Regions from separate parts of the Homo sapiens genome. Here all the other regions are linked to region 1. Evidence: promoter capture Hi-C in human tissues and cell types (Jung and others, 2019). All regions are on one chromosome and are shown on one strand. Each heading gives the region's core, a stretch centred on a gene start or on the middle of the fragment in contact. The rest is flanking DNA. Distances are from core to core; before and after follow the strand shown. Region 1 holds the start of CTDSPL2 (CTD small phosphatase like 2). Region 2 overlaps FRMD5 (FERM domain containing 5). Region 3 overlaps FRMD5 (FERM domain containing 5).

Evidence for each region. The method cuts DNA at HindIII sites, captures the fragments that hold promoters and counts their contacts. A contact is called where the count stands out against the background at its distance.
Region 2: a contact is called between a fragment that was not itself captured here and the fragment with the promoter of CTDSPL2 in region 1, in 1 of the 25 tissues and cell types used here (dorsolateral prefrontal cortex).
Region 3: a contact is called between a fragment that was not itself captured here and the fragment with the promoter of CTDSPL2 in region 1, in 1 of the 25 tissues and cell types used here (dorsolateral prefrontal cortex).

What each region holds. Positions count from the first base shown.
Region 1 is chr15:44,426,109-44,429,042 of GRCh38, forward strand. CTDSPL2 (CTD small phosphatase like 2) reads left to right here and starts at 1,521. Exons shown (of 13, transcript NM_016396.3): 1 at 1,521-1,664. It overlaps LOC124903479 (a long non-coding RNA gene), which reads left to right. Exons shown (of 3, transcript XR_007064605.1): 3 at 186-209. RefSeq lists enhancers at 423-1,030, 685-914, 1,031-1,638, 1,195-1,574, 1,639-2,245. The HindIII fragment of the contact is 11,921 bases long and covers 1-2,934 here.
Region 2 is chr15:43,931,306-43,934,239 of GRCh38, forward strand. All of the region lies in intron 1 of FRMD5 (FERM domain containing 5), which reads right to left. Among named protein-coding and RNA genes, the nearest start is that of WDR76, 110 kb to the left of the region's middle. The HindIII fragment of the contact is 4,303 bases long and covers 1-2,934 here.
Region 3 is chr15:44,036,769-44,039,702 of GRCh38, forward strand. All of the region lies in intron 1 of FRMD5 (FERM domain containing 5), which reads right to left. Among named protein-coding and RNA genes, the nearest start is that of FRMD5, 160 kb to the right of the region's middle. The HindIII fragment of the contact is 3,739 bases long and covers 1-2,934 here.

The DNA of each region.
Region 1 (2,934 bases), core at 271-2,770:
TCCTTTACCCAGACACTCTTCCCCTGCAACACACACTCCTCCTTTTTGTCTCAGATGTTATCTTACGAAACCTTCCCAGACCCCCTCGCCGGCACTCTCATGTGTTTTACAACGCCTATCATGCCATCCTTGTATTCGCTTTATCAGTTTTTAAATTCTGTTTACTTGGGTGTCTTCTTCAATAGATTATGATCTTTGGCCGGGCGCGGTGGCTCACGCCTGTAATACCAGCACTTTGGGAGGCCGAAGCGGGCGGATCACGAGGTCAGGAGTACGAGACCAGCCTGACCAACGTGGTGAAACCCCGTCTCTACTAAAAATACAAAAATTAGCCGGTCGTGGTGGCGCGCGCCTGTAATCCCAGCTTCTCGGGGGGCTGAGGCAGAAGAATCGCTTGAACCCGGGAGGTGGAGGTTTGAGCCGAGATCGCGCCACTGCACTCCATCCTGGGCGACAGAGTGAAGACTCCGTCTCGAAAAAAAAAAAAAATCATTACCTTTGGGGAAGGCAGTATCCGTGTCTGCCTGGCTCACTGTTTTACCCGTCGCACCTAGTTATTTTTTCAATAAATATTTCTTGATTGAATAAGGAGAGTGGCTTGGAGTTTCAGTGAAAAATGTTCTTCCAAACACTAGGCTTGGTTTTCCGATACCCCACTAGAACTGGATTCTCTGGACTGATACATTTTCACTCTGTGGAGCTGACCGTCCTTTGACCTAGGGTCGCAGGTGGGAGCCCACTGGCCTGAAAGATCCGAGTTTTCAACCTGCAGAATCACCGCCAACATAGGGTTGAGTCGAAGGGCATGAATATTTATGATCCAAAAGCGACTGCTACGCCCTCTAGGCAATGAGCTGGAAAGGGAACCTTCAAGGGCCACCGAAATCCCAGGAAAGGCGCCAGATTCGCTTTCTCCCGGCCTCAGGCAGCTCTCCCTACGAACTACCTCCTCCAGCGCGCCAAGCCGTTAGTCCCGCCTTATCCCCTCAGCTCCACCTACCCAGCGCGCCCACAGTTACTAAACCCTAGCCGCCAGGGTGCACTACGCGTTCCTAAGCCCCGCCTCCGGGGCAAGGGCGCGCTCCCCCTCCCAGCTCTGCCCAAGCAGTTCCGTTAGGAGCGGGAGGAAAAACCGTCCTTCGGGTCCCCGCCTCTCCACTCCTAACGCTTTACTCCCTACTCCCCCTGCGACCACTACACAGCCGGCTACGGAGGCCCCTAATGTACAAATATCCCCCAGGCCCTTGCTCATCCTGATAGGTTTTGTCCTTTCTTAATCGACCCAGTACTAAGGCCTTGTGTTCAGTTTTTCTCCAGGATTCAGACTAGAGAGTTTCTTCCGGCGTAAGGAACTTCAACGCTCTTCACGGAAGTAAAAGTGTTTTTTTGGTTGTTGTTGCCGTTGTGGCTGCCCGCATTCCTTCCCTCCCACCTCGCGGAATTGTGGCGGGAGGGGGAGGAGGAAGTCAGGGCGCCTGCGCGGAGAGGCCGCTTTCCATCCGGGTCCCTGTCCGTGCGGTGCAGCAGGTCGGTAGGCGGGAAATGGCGACTGGCTGAAGGAGCTGGTTCTGTTGCTGCTGCGGGGTAAGCGGGAAAGACACCACACATTGCGCAGTCGGGACCATCGCCGGAGCCTGAGGACACTTCTCTGTCGTCACAGTTAGGTAATCCCCTTCGTCCAGACGCCGCCGCTGCTTCCAATCTCAGTCCTCCTCCTCTTCCAGGGCCGTCTGCCGGGATCTCCTCCCCTTCTAAACCTGGTCCTCCAGCGGCTCTGGCGCCTTGGTAGGCATGCACTCTTTGGCGCCTCGTACGTCCACTGTGCGGAGCCGCTCCTGTCTGGACTTTCCCCTGGGAACAGAAAGGGAGCTCACTTCCCGCCAGCTTCACCTCTTAGGTTGCGGCCTGCGTTGTGATTTCTGGGGTTAGATTTCACTTTGCTACCCACCCCCACTCCGATCTCAAGTTCCTAGTCCCCAACCTCTGGGTAATTAAGTTAGAAGTTTAGCTTTTTTTAACCTTTTTGGCCCACCTCATGTTTTCAGCATTTCATTCTTTGGAGTAGGGTGCTTTTAGGGGGGCGTTGCTCTTATCTCAGTTCTTATAAACACCTTTTCAGAATCTGGAAGAAGGGATTTGACTAAGTTCTGTTTATCTTTTGTACTGTTAAAATCTCGAGTTGACATTGTTACTTTTTCAAATCGGGAGTGGTAGTAAAGAACAGTCCATGTGGAAGGCGTCTGGTTTCCACAGTGGTCAGTTAAAGAGTGAACCTTATTATCCTTAATATTCTCTGCTTTCTTTGGATTTTAAATGTCTGTATGGGTGTTTACTTTTGCATTCTTGACCAGAGTTCTGTGGTAAATAATTGCATAAGTAAATCTTGTTTATTTACTTCTCACCCTAGTGGTGGCTGGATGTGTGAATGATGTTAAACACTTCAGCGTACCTTAGGGAAACCTAAAGAGATCTAAGAGCTCGTAAACTTACCTGAGATCCTGAAATGAAACGTACTCAGTAGATGTTCCTCCGAGGCAGGGATTTATCTTCCTAATGCTGGTAACGCAGTACCAAGATGAATTTCTTCAGTGGGTATACAAATTAGTGACTTGAAATGATGGATTTATCTGTGTAATTTTCAAATTGTAGATTGCTTTGTCTCCCCATTCTTCGCCCAGTTTTAAATTTTCGTTCCTGGTCCATTTTTTATTCTTAGAAAAGGGAAATGGCGTGTTAAAGCTAGTTTTACTATATTTCTTTACTTTTTCTTTCCTTTTTTTTAAATTACATTGCAGACCAATTGTTCATAAAGAGAAGTAATAAGGAGGCTGTTGGTGTTTTCGGAATTTATTAATCATGTTGAATTTGGGATCTTTGTAGGTTTTTTTGTTTTCACTAATCAAATTAAAATTTTAAAAACTGTTCACATTGAAT
Region 2 (2,934 bases), core at 231-2,730, 490 kb before region 1:
CAGCCAGGCTTGTTAGGAAAAAACTCATTGCTTTGTATTTGTGAAGCTCATATTCTCTTTCTCTATTCTCTGTCTCTCTCTCTCTCTTCTCTTTCTCTCTCACACTTATACCCCCCGATCCCCACTCCCAACACACACACACATTCTCTAATACAGCTGCACTTCTCATACAACGCTGCTTCAAATAACTTGTAAAGAAAATCTAGAATTTGGGGAAAGATCGACTTCCCCTTGCTCCAACCCTAAGGACAGTTTGACAACTCATTTTATTGCTGCTTTTTTCTTTTTTTTTTTGCAAAAGACAAATGCATGTTTGGCAAAATCTGGGAATTTCTGGGGTTTTAGGGAGTATCCTGGATGGCCAGGGTCAGGAGAAATATGATAAACTCACTGGTCCTCATAACTCTTTGATTATTTCCCTCCTCTTCACAAAAAAATTGTTTACTGGCCAGTGCCAACATATGTGATGGATCCTGAGGTAGACACATTTCATTAGCAAACAGGTCAGGATCTTTGAGTCCTGAGTGCAGTCTGGGTGCAGTTTCCTTTTCAACTCTCCTATCAGGTTACTTATGTTCCTTAGAAGTTGAGGCACAGGGAGCAGAAAGGGGAGGAGCTCTGGGAAGGCAAAGGCTTTGAGAACGAGCACTAAGTAGACTTAGAGTCAAGGCCCTGGTCTGCCACTTCTCAGCTTGTGATCTCAGACCCATCCCTTAATGTACTCAAGCTTCAGCTTCCTTATCTCTAAAACAGAGTTAATCTTACATCTAAGGATGACTGTGGGGCTAAAATCAAGACACAAAATATACATAAAAACCCTGTGAGTTTTCGTGCCAACTTCCTCAGCCTCTTGAGACCTCTTCTTCCTCCAGGATGGATGGACTTGAATGCACAAGGCCTCAGCAATGAGTCAATGCACTCAAGGAACAGAAGCCTGTCCTCCCTGGACAAGAATGCATGAATGGATCTTGGCTACATGTCCACCTTGTAGTGTCCCCAAGATCTGGGAGTGGCTACCATTTTGGAAATATGCCCAAAGTGGCTCTTAAAGTACAAATCTGCGTCTTCTTCTTACCCAAGGCTATTTTTTTCCTGATCAGAAGAGTAGAAAATTTCAAATATATGTAATCAAACCAAATCCCCTCAGAAGCCTGGCAGCCTCTAATCAGTGCCACAGAGACAAAGGCAGAGCTTCTGTGACAGGCTCCTGACATGCTCCCTAGAAAGGAGGAGCTGAATAAGGGGAATAAGATATGACACAATTCCAATAGACACTATACCTTTTAATGCCTTGGCTTTAATTAGAATAAAAAGAAAAAAAGCATTTGGCAAAATATATTTCAAGAAATTAACTCAGCGTCCTGATCTCTCTCAAAAAACAGAACAGGTTCCCTCTGTAGTTAAACCTATGGGAGCTACCTGTAGCATTAGACTCTTCCCCCTGGGATTCCCCAGGGCACTGCACAACAGGATATTGACAGATAAATGAGAGAGGGATGGGCAAGTAGGGCCCACAGCTCTCTGACTGAAGCCCCAACTTCCCCAGAGCATGCCCAGTCACACACAGCTGCTGGCATCCTATCCCAGGACCAGACAAGTCATTTTCACTGCTTCTCCTGAGAAGGACAGCCAGGGCCTCCCTTGAAAGCCCCTTGTCACAGCAAACAGAACTCTGAAGAAGAGTTCCATGGTCTGCCTTGATCTGTGGTCCCACTAGAGGAACAAAAGCCACGTTTATGCCTCCCTTCCCAGCACTGAGTAGAAACAACCTCACTGGAACAACAATAGTGAGAGTCCCAGGAGAGGAGTGAGACAGCTGGGGCCCAGAGCCAGACAGATGGGTGGAGAGACAGTTTCCTGTACAAATACCGAGGCCTAGGAAAGCAGCAGGACAAACCCCGAATCTTCCAATAGTGGTTGTCCCACTGGTGGAGGAGAAGAGGAGAAGGAGGCAAGATAGGAGGCAGACAGCTAGCTCACTCAGAAGGCTGACTTTCCTTAATAAACAGCAAATTAGGAAGCATACCATACTCCGGACCATTGGTTCTCACACCTGAGTCCACCTCAGAATCACCTGGAGGGCTTGTTAAAATACAGATTGCTGGGCCCCGCCCCTAAAGTTTCTAGTTCATAGGTCTGCTGTGGGGCCTGGGAATTGGCATTTCTAACAAGTTCCCAGGTGATGCTGCTGTTGCTGGTCTGGGGATTACTGGCATCTGATGGTCTTGTAGCTCTTGAAGCCAAGATTACAGGGATAAGGGAAAGAGAAGCAGATATTTGACCTCTGTCACAATCCAACTCTGTTAGCACAAACCCCACTTTCATTAACCTTCCACGTTTTCATATAACAAGAGTACCAACTTCAGAGCATTAGACTGTGAGTTAAATATTACAGAGAAACACTGCTTCTTCCTACCAGGTTTTTAAATTCTGCCTTTCATGACAGTGGGCAGCTACCCAACTCTGGCTTGCAAGTTCGAGTCCCCAATTACCATTTATTTTCAATGGCTAACTAGCTCAAAACTCACTGCACTTTTGCTATGAACTAGATCATCAGAAAATAAAGCCAGCAGTTATCATCAAACTCAATCCGGGGAAAGAACTCCCCTTCTCACCCCAGATCTGCTGTCAGTGACAGGGAGTCTGTTCCAGAACATGTCCTATCCTGGCCTTTGGGCTCTCTTGTCTAGGAGGCGGGGCTGGAAGGTGCCCCAGTACCTCATCCTGCTGTCTCCTCCCTACATCTACGCTCCTTGAGGCTCCTTAGTCAGAATTCTGTCTTGGCTGTCAAGACCAGCCTTCTCCTTTCTCTCCTTTTCCTGAGAGAGGATCCAGCTGCCCCTCCATGGAGGGTTGGGGTGGGTATAGGAAATATGCTCTGAGCATGTAGTTCCATGCCAAGGAGGCAAGTCCTCCATGTTCAACTTTGGCAGG
Region 3 (2,934 bases), core at 127-2,626, 390 kb before region 1:
TGTTTTGTGCATCGGCCTTCAGTACAGTGGTAAAGAAGCAGTGCTGGTGAGCATCCTGATCATATTCCTGACTCTGCCACTTCTTTTGGATCTTCTTCCCTACTTGGTCACTAAAAGGTTCTGGTAAAGGACTCTAATGAAATTCTTGTTGTTAAATCCAACAGGTACTTTTCAATCATTATTTTGCCTGACTGTTAGGCAGCACTCAACATTACAACTACAGTTTTTTTTTTAATACTTTAAGTTCTGGGATACATGTGCAGAATGTGCATGTTTGTTACATAGGTATGCATGTGCCACGGTGGTTTGCTCTACCCATCAGCCTGTCAACTACATTAGGTATTTCTCCTAATGCTATCCCTCCCCTAGCTCCCCCAACCCCCGACAGGCCCTGGTGTGTGATATTTCCCTCCCTGTATTCATGTGTTCTCATTGTTCACCTCCCACTTATGAGTGAGAACATACGGTGTTTGGTTTTCTGTTCCTGTGATAGTTTGCTTAGAATGATGGTTTCCAGCTTCATCCATATCCCTGCAAAGGACATGAACTCATCCTTTTTTATGGCTGCCTAGTATTCCATGGTATATATGTGCCACATTTGCTTTATCCAGTCTATCATTGATGGGCATTTGAGTTGGTTCCAAGTCTTTGCTATGGTGAATAATGCCTCAATACACATACGTGTACATGTGTCTTTTCTCTTTTTTTTTTTTTTTTTGATATGGAGTCTTGCTCTGTCGCCAGGCTGGAGTGCAGTGGCGCAATCTCAGCTCACTGCAACCTCTGCCTCCCAGGTTCGAGCAATTCTCCTGCCTCAGCCTCCCAAGTAGCTGGGACTACAGGTGCATGCCGCCACACCCAGCTTTTTTTTTTTTTTATAGTTTTAGTAGAGTTGGGGTTTCACCATGTTGACCAGGAAATGGTCTTGATCTCTTGACCTCATGATCCACCTGCCTCGGCCTCCTAAAGTGTTGGGATTACAGGTGTGAGCCACTGTGCCCAGCAACATGTGTCTATAGTAGAATGATTTATAATCCTTTGGTTATATACCTATTAATGGGATTGGTGGTCAAATGGTATTTCTGGTTCTAGATCCTTGAGGAATCACCACACTGTCTTCCACAATGGTTGAACTAATTTACACTCCCACCAACAAAAGCATTCCTATTTCTCCACATCTTCTCCAGCATCTGTTGTTTCCTGGCTTTTTAGTGATTGCCATTCTAACTGGTGTGAGATGTTATCTCATTGAGGTTTTGATTTGCATTTCTCTAATGACCAGTGATGATGAGCTTTTTTTCATATGTTTGTTGGCCACATAAATGTCTTCTTTTGAGAAGTGTCTGTTCATATCCTTCACCCACTTTTTGATGGGGTTTTTTTTATTGTAAATTTAAGTTCTTTGTAGATTCTGGATATTAGCCCTTTGTCAGATGGATAGATTGCAAAAATGTTCTCCCATTCTGTAGGTTAACTGTTCACTCTGATGATAGTTTCTTTTGCTGTGCAGAAGCTCTTTAGTTTAATTAGATCCCATTTGTCAATTTTAGTTTTTGTTGCCATTGCTTTTGGTGTTTTAGTCATGAACTCTTTGCCCATGCTTATGTCCTGAATGGTATTGCCTAGGTTTTCTTCTAGGATTTTATGGTTTTAGGTCTTATGTTTAAGTCTTTAATCCATCTTGGGTTAATTTTTGTATAAGGTGTAAGGAAGGGGTCCAGTTTCAGCTTTCTGCATATGGCTAGCCAGAGCTTTTTTTTTTTTTTTTTTTTATAACAATTCTCAGTGGCTGTCAAGATGGCTGAATAGGAACAGCTCCAGTCTGCAGCTCCCAGCAAGATCAATGCAGAAAACAGGTGATTTCTGCATTTCCAACTGAGGTACCCAGTTCATCTCATTGGGACTGGTTGGACAGTGGGTGCAGCCCACAGAGGGCGAGCTGAAGCAGGGTGGGGCATTGCCTCACCCGGGAAGCACGAGGGGTCAGGGGATTTCCCATTCCTAGCCAAGGGCAGCCTTGAGAGACTGTACCGGGAGGAACAGTGCACTGCGGCCCAGATATTGCACTTTTCCCATGGTCTTCACAACCGGCAGACCATGAAATTCCCTCCAGTGCCTGGCTCGGCAGGTCCCACCCCCATAGAGCCGAGCAAGCTAAGATCCACTGGCTTGAAATTCTTGCTGCTAGCACAGCAGTCTGAGGTCGACTTAGAATGCTCAAGCTTTGTAGGGGGAGGGGCATCCACCATTGCTAAGGATGGAGTAGGTGGTTTTGCCCTCACAGTGTAAACAAAGCCTCTCGTAAGTCTGAACTGGGCGGAGCCCACCACAGCTCAGCAAGGCTGCTGTGGCCAGACTGCCTCTCTAGGCAGGGCATCTCTGAAAAAAAGGCAACAGCCTCAGTCAGGGACTTACAGATAAAACCCCCATCTCCCTGGGACAGAGCACCCGGGGGAAGGGGCAGCTGCAAGTGCAGCTTCAGCAGACTTAAATGTCCTTGCCTGACAGCTCTTAAGAGAGCAGCAGATCTCCCAGCACAGCATTCAAGCTCTGATAAGGGACAGGCTGCCTCCTCAAGTGGGTCCCTGACCCCTGTGTATTCTGACTGGAAGACACCTCCCAGTAGGGGCCAACAGACATCTCATATAGGAGAGCTCTCGCTGGCAACTGGCAGGTGCCACTCTGGGACAAAGCTTCCAGAGGAAAAAACAGGCAGCAATCTTTGCTGTTCTGCAGCCTCCACTGGTAATACTCAGGCAAACAGGGTCTGGAGTGGACCTCCATCAAACTCCAGCAGGCCTGCAGAAGAGGGGCCTGGCTGTTAGAAGGAGAACTAACAGACAGAAAGGAATAGTAGCAACATCAACAAAAAGGATGGCCACTCAGAGACCCCATCTGAAGGGCACCGACTTCAAAGACCAAAGGTAGACAAAT